Linked DNA regions of Homo sapiens: all the other regions are linked to region 1. Evidence: promoter capture Hi-C in human tissues and cell types (Jung and others, 2019). All regions are on one chromosome and are shown on one strand. The core of a region is centred on a gene start or on the middle of the fragment in contact, and the rest is flanking DNA. Distances in the headings are between cores, read along the strand shown. Region 1 holds the start of ZNF266 (zinc finger protein 266). Region 2 holds the start of OR7D4 (olfactory receptor family 7 subfamily D member 4). Region 3 has its middle 8.6 kb from the start of OR7E24.

The links. Contacts are between HindIII fragments. The study calls those that stand out against the background at their distance.
Region 2: a contact is called between the fragment with the promoter of OR7D4 here and the fragment with the promoter of ZNF266 in region 1, in 3 of the 25 tissues and cell types used here (heart left ventricle, mesendoderm cells and thymus).
Region 3: a fragment that was not itself captured here is called in contact with the fragment with the promoter of ZNF266 in region 1 in 5 of the 25 tissues and cell types used here (H1 embryonic stem cells, liver, lymphoblastoid cells and 2 more).

The regions. Positions count from the first base shown.
Region 1 is chr19:9,433,820-9,437,926 of GRCh38, reverse strand. ZNF266 (zinc finger protein 266) reads left to right here and starts at 2,354. Exons shown (of 11, transcript NM_001370374.1): 1 at 2,354-2,643; 2 at 2,734-2,819; 3 at 3,068-3,129; 4 at 3,692-3,852. It overlaps LOC105372269 (a long non-coding RNA gene), which reads right to left and starts at 2,286. Exons shown (of 3, transcript XR_007067133.1): 1 at 2,155-2,286. RefSeq lists an enhancer at 2,434-2,563. The HindIII fragment of the contact is 27,667 bases long and covers 1-4,107 here.
Region 2 is chr19:9,217,737-9,221,843 of GRCh38, reverse strand. It overlaps OR7D4 (olfactory receptor family 7 subfamily D member 4), which reads left to right and starts at 2,255. Exons shown (of 2, transcript NM_001005191.3): 1 at 2,255-2,644. It also overlaps a transcript of OR7E24 not described here. The HindIII fragment of the contact is 21,358 bases long and covers 842-4,107 here.
Region 3 is chr19:9,240,296-9,244,402 of GRCh38, reverse strand. It overlaps a transcript of OR7E24 not described here. Among named protein-coding and RNA genes, the nearest start is that of OR7E24, 8.6 kb to the left of the region's middle. The HindIII fragment of the contact is 9,125 bases long and covers 1-4,107 here.

The sequences.
Region 1 (4,107 bases), core at 1,105-3,604:
CTAAGTGAAAAAAGTTATTCACAAAAGATTGTATGATTTTTAGGCCGGGCATGGTGGCTCACGCCTATAATCCCAGCACTTTTGGAGGCCGAGGCAGGACTACTTAAGCCCAGGAGTTCGAGATCAGCCTTGCAACATAGTGAGACCCTGTCTATACAAAAATAAAAATAAATTGTATGAGTATATCCATATGAAATGTCTACAAAAGAAAAATCTGTAGTGATAAAGTAGGTTTGTGGTTCCCTGGAGCTTAAAGAGGAGGTAAATGGGTTTTCCCATTCAAAGATTTCTTTTAGTGTGATTAAAATGTTCCAAAATTATGTTTGAACAACACTGCGAATGTACTAAAAAATATTGAATTATATAGCTTTAAGTGGGTGAACTGTGTTGGTTATATGTGAATTGTATCTCAATACAGCTGGTCTAAAAACCAAAAGGGAAAAATCACAATAATAGCCACATCATTGGGAGCGTAAAAATTTAATGTCTATTAAGCATTTAGGGTAGTAAGATTTAAAAAACAGCTACCGCCAGGTGCGGTGGCTCACACCAGCACTTTCAGAGGCTGAGGTGGGCAGATCACCTGAGGTTAGGAGTTTGAGACCACCCTGGCCAACATGGCGAAACCCCATCTCTACTAAAAAAAAAAAAAAAAAAAAATACAAAAATTAGCTGAGCGTGGTGGCGCGTGCCTATAATCCCAGCTACTCAGGAGACTGAGAAAGGAGAATCCCTAGAACTCAGGAGGTGGAGGTTGCAGTGAGCCGAGATCGTACCACTGTATTCCAGCCTGGGTGACAGAGCAAGACTGTCTCAAAAACAAACAAACAAAAAAGCTACCATTATTATTATTATTACCACGGAATATTATTAGTTGATACAAAACCACTGGAATGAAAAGATTATGATCTTGATATTGGCATAAGTAAATGTATTACTGGCATAGAGTCTAGAATCAGATACAGGTATACATAGGAATTTATAGTTTAATAAACATGGAATTTGAAATCAGTAAATCAAGGACAGTTTATCAATATGTGGTACTACAATAATTGGCCGTGTTTCTGGAGGAAAGAGATATTGTATCCACTATCCCACACCACATACTGAAACACATTCCATGAGTATGAAAGATTTCAATGTTTTTAAAGTAATATGCTGCAGAAGAAAATTAGGAAATCTATATGTAATCTAGAGTTTATGAAGACTTCTTAATGCAAGAGAGGAAACTTAAAAAAGAAAATCTTTTTGAGTTGAAAAATTAACTGCAAAATAGTTACCAGTTCAGTAGATTCACAAAATATTTGATAATGTACATGAACAGTTCTTCATGTTAGTAAAACAGTGTTCAAAATAACTTTATTAACTCCATAAAGGCCACCCACTACAAAGCACAGCAAAAACGATTTCTGGAGAAACTAGAATCACTCCTGCAGAAGTGAATGCCTGATATCAGTGCTATTTTACAACGCGGTATTTTACAACGAGGCCCTGGAACTCACTGTAAGATCTCAGAAAACAATATATTAGTCAAAGAAAAAAAAATCAACATTTACAAAAAGTATCAGCATATTGAATACACAAAGGAATCAACTATTAGAATTTAGCATGGCGTCCAGATAAATGAAATAAGGGGAAATATTGGCCTCAAGTTGAATTGGGCCCGGCGCCGTGGTGCACGCCTGTAATCCCAGCCTTTTGGGAGGCTGAGGCGGGATGATTGTTGGAGCCCAGGAGTTTGAGATCAGCCTGGGTAACATACCTCAACTCTGGGGGAAAAAAAATTAGCCGGGCATGGTGGCCTGCGCCTGTAGACCCAGCTACTCGGGAGGCTGAGGCGGGATGATGGCGTGAGCCCATGAGTTTCGCCCCACAGCACGCCAGCCTGGACTACACAGTGAGACCCTGTCTCAAACAAAAACAAAATAAAAAACTAAAACTAGATTGAATGAATGGAGGAGATAGGCCATATCATGGACTGGCAGGATTATCAAAGGAAGCATCATTTTGAGGGTGCTAGGAACGTGGGAGGAGGTGAGAATAAAAGCTTTTTGTGAGCATTGTGCACATCCTGTGGGGGAGCCCCCACCTCTAACTTTGCCAACACCACCGACCCCACCCTAGGTTAGCCCCGTCCGCAGGGCTGGTTCTAACCTCAGCCTTGTGCTCTGGGCCCCTTTTGGCCTCCATCCCTCAAGGTGAGCAGACTCCAAGGCCTCCAAGGCGTCTCCGTAGCCACTGGGGAGTAAACCAGAATCTCTCTGCCTGAGGTTGTTCAGCTCGGCTGAGGTTGCAGTTCCCGAGCGCTCCTCCAGGTTTGAGGCTGGAGGCGGAAGTGACGTCACGGAGCGCTGCTGTGTTTTCCGGCGCTTTCTCCGCGCCGCCAAACCCGTTTTCTTCCTGGTGGCGTTTGGGCTTAATACAGCTTTGGCGAGGTCGGATGACGGGTGGGAGCCAGCGGTGGAAGGGGTGGCGAAAGTACCGGTTTGCCCCAGGCCGCCGAGGGGCCTCCTTAGAGAGACCTTGCCTGCTCCGCTCGCGTCCGCCGGGGCCGCGCGGGTCCTCCTGGCGCCGCCAGGTTCAAAAAGCCACTCGAGTTGTCACTGCGACGGCCCTGGGCCAGGAGCCGTTTCGGGATCTGTCGTAAGGGCGCTTCCTCACGATTTTTGCAAACACGGTGATTGCCGCTTCAAACTCTTCCAAAGCAATTCTTTGTGACTTTTTTTTTTCCAGAAACAACGAGTTTTCGTCGTTCGAATCAGGTTGACTGGTCCTTCATCCCCCCAATCTCCCGTACCTGGCGAGTCCAGCTCGTCGCGGTGAGTACTGGGGTGAAAGTTGGTTTCGGGGGCTTCTTCCTCCTGTTTTATCTGAGAATTTGTTTTTCTCTTTGCGCATCCTGTATTTACTTTTGACACTCTACATTCAGGTAGAAACATAAAGCTATTTTTTAGGTATCTGGGGTGTGGTTATTTCTCTATGTGAATATAAACGTTTGTAGACCAGAAGTCTTTCTACTGAAGAAAAGCAAGAATACTCAGCTATTCTTTTTATCTGAACTTCCTAGGCCTGTACCTCCCCACAGAGCTTCAAAACGGGCTTTTAGGAAGAAGGAATGGAGGCTTTGAAGTAAGTTGAACATTGCAGGCGTGACACTTAAGGTTTAAATGCTTGGTAATACGTGTCCTGTGGATAAAGACATGTCCTTTTAAAACCATAATACTATTACCCCAGAAAATTTAAAATGTTGTTAATATGTACCCTGTGTAAAAAGGTACAGTTCTCCACTTTGTTCCAATATATGGTTTTGATTGTTTTGGGATCTATTACGTATCCAAGTTTCATGTCTTTTAGTCTCTTTAAAACTAGCAGACACTGTTTATCCGTTATATTGTCTTTTTGCGCAGTCACTCGTTCTTTCAGAAAGTTATACATTTTGGTAGTTCTGATTGTATTCTGTGCCGTGTTTAAATGTATCCTTCATTTATTGGTGTATCCTGTAAATGGATGAGTGTCTGAATGGTTAATTAAGGCATAGTAAAAAAATTCAGCCTAGGGCTGTTCTTAGGGAGGTTGTAAACTAGTGGAGGAGGCTGTCATGTAACCAAGCAAATAAGTGTATTACAAATTGATGAAGGTCTGTAAGTAAAGTAGAGGACAGAATTATTTTCTCTATTTTTCTTTGGAATAGGCAATGCTAAGAAAAGAGTGATATGCAAGCTGAGACCAAAAATATGGTATGATTTAGCCATACTGAAGGGGAAGGAAATAAGAGCTGGGCAAAGCATTCTGTGAATTGGCTGACTCCACTTCTATGGTGAGAGAGAGGAGTGCATCAAAGATTACTCCCAGGTTTGACAGAGTCAGTATTCTTTCTTTGGTTGGGGAAACAATGTGGTGGGATAATTTAATCTTAAATGTATGACAGGAAATAGTAAGTGATATCTTTTGGGAGACAGAGTTTCGCTGTTGCCAGGCTCCAGTGCAGTGGCAGGATCTCGGCTCACTGAAACACTGTAACCTCCACCTCTTGGGTTTTCAAGCCATCCTCCTGCCTCAGCCACCCTAGTAGCTGGGATTACAAGTGTGCGCCACCATGCCTGGCTA
Region 2 (4,107 bases), core at 1,006-3,505, 220 kb after region 1:
AGACAAATGGAATTACATTAAACTAAAAATCTCCACACAGCAAAGGAAACAGTAGAGTGAAGAGACAAACTACAGAATGGAGGAAAATATTTGCAAACTAGACATGTGATATGGGGCTAATATCCAAAATACGTAAGAAGCTCAAACAACTCAGTAGGAAGAAAACGACCCAATTTTAAAATGGGCAAAAGACAGCCTGGCGCGGTGGCTCACGCCTGTAATCCCAGCACTTTGAGAGGCAGAGGAGAGCGGATCACGGGGTCAGGAGATCGAGACCACCCTGGCTAACACGGTGATAACCCCGTCTCTACTAAAAATACAAAAAAGTAGCCGGGCGTCGTGGCAGGCGCCTGTAATCCCAGCTACTCGGGAGGCTGAGGCAGGAGAATGGCGTAAACCCGGGAGGCGGAGCTTGCAGCGAGCGGAGATCGCGCCACTGCATTCCAGCCTGGGTGACAGAGCGAGACTCCGTCTCAAAAAAAAAAAAAAAAAAAAAAAAAAAAGGGCAAAAGACCTGAAAGACATTTGTCAAAAGAAGACACACAGATGGACAACATACATTTTTTTTTTCTTGAGACGAGTCTCGCTCTGTCACCCAGGCTGGAGTGCAGTGGCGCGATCTCGGCTCACTGCAAGCTCCCCCTCCCGGGTTGAAGTCATTCTCCTGCCTCAGCCTCCCAAGTAGCTGGGACTACAGGCGCCCGCCACCACGCCCGGCTAATTTTTTGTATTTTTAGTAGGGACGGGGTTTCACCTTTAGCCAGGATGGTCTCGATCGCCTGACCCTGTGATCCGCCCGTCTAGGCCTCCCAAAGTGCTGGGATTACAGGCGTGAGCCACTGCGCCCGGCCCAACATACATTTTTAAAAGGTTTAACTTCACTAATCATCAGGGAAATGCAAATGAAAACCACAATGAGATATCACCTCACTTCATCTCAAATGGCTATTACTAAAAAGACAAAAGATAGTAAGTGCTGGCCAGGATATGAAGAAATGGAAACCCTTCTACACTGTTGGTAGGAATGTAAATTAGTACAACCATTATGGAAAAGAGTATGGAGGTTCCTCAAAAACTTAAAAATAGAACTACCATATGATCCAGCAGTCCACTACTGGGTATATATCAATAAGAAACGAAGTCAGTGTGTGGAAGGGATATCGCACTCCCATGTTTATTGGAGCATTATTCACAGTAGCCAAGACACAGAATCAACCTAGTTGTCTGCAAATAAATGAATGGATAAAGAAAATGTAGTATATATACACAATGGAATATGATTCATCCATAAAACACAAGGAAATCCTGTCATTTGCAACATGGATGAACTCAGAGAACATTGTGTTAAGTGAAATAAGGGAGGCACAGAAAGACAAATATCACATGATCTCACTCATATGTGGAATCTAACGAAGGTGATCTCAGAGAAATAGAATCCAGATTTCAAAGAAGTAGAATGTTGGTTACCAGACCCAGAGTGGTTTGGGGTTGAGGAGTAGTGTTGGTGTTGTGGAGATGTTAGTAAAAGAATACAAAATTACAGCTATATAAGAGAAGTAAGTTCAAGAGATCTATTGTACAGCAGGATGACTTTAGTTAATGATGATATATATGATATTCTTTGAAAATGCTAAGAGAGTGGATATTAAGTGTTCTCACCAGGATAACGACTCTGTGAGATAATGCGTATGTTAATTAGATACATTGAATGTCCACAATGTATATATATTTCCAAATATCAAGTTGTACATGATACATACATATAATTCTATAATTTAAAAAAATATATAAAAATAATTTGAAAAAATATTTAAAAAGAAAAGACATTTTTGTTTCCATGAATTTTCAACACCGAGGGATCCATAAAATCTCCAAAGACTCTTCAAGGGAGTCACATCGCTTGGAGATGATTCCTGAGTTTAGTTCCTTGCAGAAATTAATCTTTCCTTAGGGCAAAACTTGTGACTTTCAAATTAAACCGAAGAAAGAATTTCTTCTTGGGGGAAATAAATCCATCATGCCCTACCACTGCCTATTTCATCACAAAATTAACTGAAAAATTTCCATTCTATCATCTTCTTACTACTCAAAGGGAGCCAAACTCTTTGGAGAGTGGGAAGAAAATAGAACAATTTATTTAATAAGGTGCTCTGAGAATTCAACTCTTGAGACACTGGAAACTTAAAATGTGCCCCTGTTTAAACAACCTCACCTGTAATTCTCTGCTCCCAGCCTTTGGAAAAAACCCAGTACGGCTTCCTAGGAACAGATCGTGTAGAAGAGAAAACTTCAGTGATAACCATCAGAGTTAGTGTGACCCAGTGAGGGCTGGTGGGGTAAGAAGGAAAAGAGGAGAGAGAATAAGTACTAGCCTTCACAGTAATGAGCCTGGAAAGTCCCATACTTATTGAGTCTATGAAGGTGAAGTCCCTGTACTTTGATGGTACTTTAGTTTTCACAGAAACCAGTGTCTCCCACCTTCTGTTCTCACTCCTTGGAATCCAGGGCCCGTCTTTAATAAGTTATTTTCCGAACAGTCTCTAACTCTCCTGCACTCTTTCCTATAAACTTTAGTCTCCTGTTGAATTTCGTACATCCAGTTACTTATTCATTAACTACTCACGGAAGATCTACTATGCTCAAGGTATTGTCTATGTGTTCCTAATGTGATTGGATTTTTCTATTATATTCTATATTTTTCCTGGCAGATTATTGGTTACCAGACCCAGAGTGGTCTGGGGATTGGGGGTAGGGTTGATGTGGTGGAGATGGTGACTTATTTACAGCACTTACTAGCTGTTATGTTTTTGCTATTTCAACTTAGTATCCATGATATCATATAGAAATAATACAATTATTTCTGACATTCAACATGCAGTCCAATTTTTTTTCTCATATTAAAAATCCCTTGGCTGAACGTAGTGGCTCACATCTATAATCCCAGCACTTTGGGAGGCCGAGGCGGGCAGATCACTTGAGGCCAGGACCCTGAGACCAGCCTGGCTAACATGGCAAAACCCTGTCTCTACTAAACAATAACAAAAAAAGAAAGCCTGACACCTTAGCTTACACCTGCAATCCCAGTTACTCGGGAGACTGAGATGGGATAATTGCTTGAACCCAGGAGGCAGAGGTTGCAGTAAGCTGAGACTGCACCCCGCACTCCAGCCCAGGTGACAAAGTGACACCATGTCCCCCCCAAAAAAAAATCCATTTGCATGTTCACCAAAATATCAAAAGATTGAAATTGTAGTAGACGGCCTTTGGTGTATCCAGGAATTTAAACCCCTTACTGTTTTAACATAGCATATCTTGTTGCCTGTGGTATTAAAACAACCATTGTTTATCGGGTTAAGCAATTGTCCTTGGTTTCTTCCTTTATTGAGAGGATCTGCCCTGGTTGATAATCTTTTTCAAATGCATTTTTTCTATTGTGATTTTGTTTATGATTTCTCTTTACTGACCTGTTTTTGTGATGAATTATGCAGACATTCTTACATTAAACCTGCTTCCATTGTTAGAGCTGGTATTACTACTTCATTTATCATTATTTTAAAAGAGATATGAATATGTTATTTACTGTATTATTAAATTTATGTCTATATTCAAACATGTCTTAAACTTGAAGATTTCTATTTTGTGTTATAGTTGATGCTTTGGTCCCAGTCTTTATAGAACATTTCAATTTGTACTTGCTCAGAATCAGTAATGTGCTGGGCACCACGTAAATCCTTGTTAAATGATGAGACAAAACAATCGCAACCACTGTCTAAAACTAAATATAAGTTGACCAATGTGAAAGGGACAAGGAGGAAGAATATAGGATGTTCTATTTCTAGTCATCAAATACATATCCCGCTTTCATTCCCTGCTCCCCATCTCACTGGCATCTCAAATCCCTTCCTTTACAAGCTCAATGACCCATGGGACAATCTCGAATTCTCTTCTGTCAGCCTAGAAGATTTACCCTTTCCTTTCCTTACTTCCCCTAATTAACAATGATCCGGCCAGGTGCAGTAGCTCATGTCTGTAATCCCAGCATTTTGGGAGGCCGAGGTGGGCAGATCACTTGAGGTCAGTAGTTCGAGACCAGCCTGGCTAACAAGG
Region 3 (4,107 bases), core at 904-3,403, 190 kb after region 1:
ATAAGTGAGAGTTTCTTTCTGGGCTCTCTTTACTCTTCCATTTTTCTGTATATGTGTCTTTATGTATTATAGTACCACACTGTTTTAATTCCTGGATCTTTGTAGTTTATTTGGAAACCAGGAAATGTGAGACCTTCAACTTTTCTTTTTAATGGATTTATACATTTTTTCAATTTACCTTAGAATTGTACATTGAGTTGGATAATAGTAACAAAACCTGCTAGGCTTTGGAGAGTGGATTCCCAAGGTTTTTCAAATACACTGTCTCATTGGAGCCTTAGTACTCCTGATCAAATAAAGACAGACAGATTTTTTATTTTGCCAGTGAGAATCACAGTCTGGAGAGGCTGTTGAATCCCAACACAGTGGTCACTGATGGGTCTGATACTGGAATTGGGTCTGTGTCCACCAGGCTGTGGGGCCTTTTCCAGAAACCAGGCTCCTGCACAGGGACTGGGGCTGAAGGAGGGACTCTCCCGGGAGGAGGCAGCCTGGTGAGAAGGATGCCAGCAGAAGTCTCAGGCCTCTAAGGCCTCCCCTCCTTCCCTGGTCTCTGCAGCTGAAGTTGCATCAGGAAGCTGTATCTTCTAACTGCTTGAGGCAACTTCTCAGATAAACCCTCTGAGGTGAATCCATAAACTTTTACAACTTGCACTTTCAAAGGATGATGCAAGGAGCAACAATTGCACCAGCTTGAGCCATTTGAGGGTGGTGTGGAATTGGAAACTGTGTCAAAGGCAATGGAACCCTGCCTCTAGCATCAGAAAGCTAAGCCTGTATTCAAAATAGATGCCTGCCAGGTGCAGTGGTTCACACCTACAATCCCAGTGCTTCAGGAAGCCAAGGTGGCCAATCCTGGTTTGAGGCCAGGATTTCAAGACAAGCCTGAGTCACATAGAGAGACCCCCTAACTGGGTGTGATGATGCATGCCTGTAGTCCCAGCTACTTGGGAGACTGAGGAGGATCACTTGAGCCCAGGAGTTCAAGATTTCAGTGAGCCACTGTACTCCAGCCTGCACAATACTGTGAGACACTGGCTCAAAAAAAAAAAAAAAAATGCCAGAGCAACATAAAATTGTAAGCATTCATTACCTTTCTGCCACCATGCATTGGGGAAAGTGGATCCCTCAGCTGATGCTGACCATTGGCAGACAGGATGGTGTGTGTGGAGATGGCGGGAGGGTCTTAGGGATGTGGGATGAACCCTGACACCATCTACTACCCCATCCTTCACTGCAGACCCAGTTCTACCAGTTCTCATCAAAAGGGTGAACTGCATCCCAAACACAGTCCACATTCTGTGGCTTCCATTCCTGAAGACATCTCCAGAAAGTCTCAGAAGAAAATTAAACTATATGAGAGAACAAATCTTTTCTATCGTATAATTATTACATGTTCTACAATCTGGGGTTAGATCATAAAACTGCAATTATGGGAAATAAAGGTCAAATAAAGAAGGAAAGAAAGAAAGACAAGAAGGAAGGAGGGAATGAGAGAAGAAAGAGGAGGGAATGAGGGAAGAAAGAGGAGGGAATGAGGGAAGAAAGAAGAGGAAAGGAAGAAAGTAAAAAAGGAGGGAGGGAGGGAAGAAAAGGAATAATCACAAAGAAGGAAGCAACGTCTCAGTTATTCTAGGCAGTTCATTACTATGAATCATCAGAACAAACAAGCTTACAAATCTACATTCCTAATTTGATGTGAAAAATCACATCACTGTTCTTATGAAATAAAGGATAGCAAAGTTGGAGTGTGGTCTCAACGTCAAGTTGCCAGGTTATAGTTCACCTCTATCTGCTTCTTCCTTTGTGGAACAAGGTGAATGAGAAAAGACATGTCAAAGAAATGTTTTCAGGGCCAACTGTGGTGGCTCATGCCTATAATCCCAGCACTTTGGGAGGCCGAGGCAGGTGGATCACTTGAGGTCAGGAGTTTGAGATCAGCCTGGCCAACATGGCAAAACCCCATCTCTACTAAAAATACAAAAAAAATTAGCCAGGTGTGGTGGTGCACACTTATAATTCCAGCTACTTGGGAGGCTGAGACACAAGAATTGCTTGAACCCGGGAGGTGGTTGCCGTGGGCTGAGATAGCGCCATGGCACTCCAGCCTGGGTGACAGAGTGAAACTGTGTCTCAAAACAAAACAAAACAAAAACAAAAAGAAAGAAATGTTTTCAGGATTAAATAAAGCCATACATGTAAAGCAACAAGCACAATCCTAAAAGGGAAACACGTTGCCTTGACTATTGTATGATTTTCATCCAATTTCTTCCAGAGGAAACAAGAACACAACCAAGTTTAGGTGAAGGGTGCTAACATGCAAATGGGTAATTTTTGAGGAAAGCATGTCATCATATCAGCACTCGATATGATAAGTGTTTCAAACAACACGTGAGAACTCTCAAGAGTGGCTCTAAGAAAATGGACCAAAGATGGAACTTTAAAGACTGTATATAAAACGGAAAAGTTAGAAGGAAATTACCAAGGGAGTTACTGAGAGAACCTAAAGTAAAAACATGTAGCAAAAGCCAAATCACAAGTGTTTTGGGAAGAGTAAAAATGAAGCATGTGATTTTCAGGAGAAAAAGAGCCAGGATATTTATTTCTTGTTTTCTTTTAGTTTTGTAGTTGTTGTTTTTGAGACAAAGTCTCACTCTGTCGCCCAGGCTGGAATGCAATGGCGCAATCTCAGCTCACTGCAACCTCTACCTCCCAGATTCAAGCAATTCTCCTGCCTCAGTCTCCCAAGTAGCTGAGATTACAGGCACCCACCACCACACCCAGCTAATTTTGCATTTTTAGCAGAGATGGGGTTTCACCACATTGGCCAGGCTGGTCTTGAACTCGTGACCTCAAGTGATCCACCCACCTCAGCCCCCAAAGTGCTGGGATTACAAGCATGAGCCACCAAGCCTGGTCGAGCCGGGATATTTAAATTCACATTTGCCTAATGGACCTACAACATCCACTTAGTTCTGAGACCTTGATCTGTCATGGACAAGAGGCTGGTCTGCTGAGGAACTGAATGTTCATGAGCAGGGCTCTGTCAAACATAATCTTGCCTTTGTGACCTTTTTATAAACCCAATGATCTCTCTGACAACCACCACTTAGACAGATTGAACCCTAGGCTAACACATTCTGCTGCCAAGTGGATGTTATTAATAAGGTGTTTCACAGCACAACAAACTAAACCCTTCCAAGAACAAACTCGATGCAAAGGAAAGTAGATTGAACCCTACTTTCTGCCATGTACAAAAATCAAATCAAATAAAAAACAGATCAACAGGCCTGGCGCAATGGCTCATGCCTGTAATCCCAGCATTTGGGTGGCCGAGGCGGGTGGATCACTTGAGGTCAGGAGTTCAAGACCGGCCTGACTAACATGTGAAACCCCATCTCCATCAAAAATACAAAAATTAGCCAGGCGTGGTGGCGGGCACCTGTAATCCCAGCTACCTGGGAGGCTGAGGCAGGAGAATCACTTGAACCCGGGAGGCAGAGGTTGCAGAGAGCCGAGATCACACCTCTGCACTCCAGCCTGGGTGACAGAGAGAGACTGTGTCTCAAAATAAATAAATAAATAAAAAGTCAATAGCTTAAATATAATGTAGCTAAAATCATAAAACTCTTAGAAAAAAACATACAGGAATATCTTGATTACACTTTATTTGGAAGCAGATTGTTAGATACAACAGTGAAAGCATGAGTAACAAAACAAAAAAATAGATATATTGAACTTCATCAAATTTTAAAACTTTTCTCTATCAAAATGTTCTGTTAAGAAAATGGAGCATGGTACCAATAGAAACACAGATACAAAGGACAATGGAACAGAAGAGGTGGTGCAGAAATGAATCAATGAATTTATGGCAAATCATTTTTTGACAAAGATGCCGAGAACACACAGTGGGGAAAGGACAGTCTCTTCCATAAATGGTGCTGGGAAAACTGGAAAACCACATGCAGAGGAATGAAATTAGCTCCTCATCTCAGGTCTCAGTAAACCTGAAAATGCAAAACCACTAAAAGAAAACATAGGAATAATCCTCCATGAAATTACACTGGGCAATGATTTTTTGGATAAGAACCCAAAACACAAGCAACA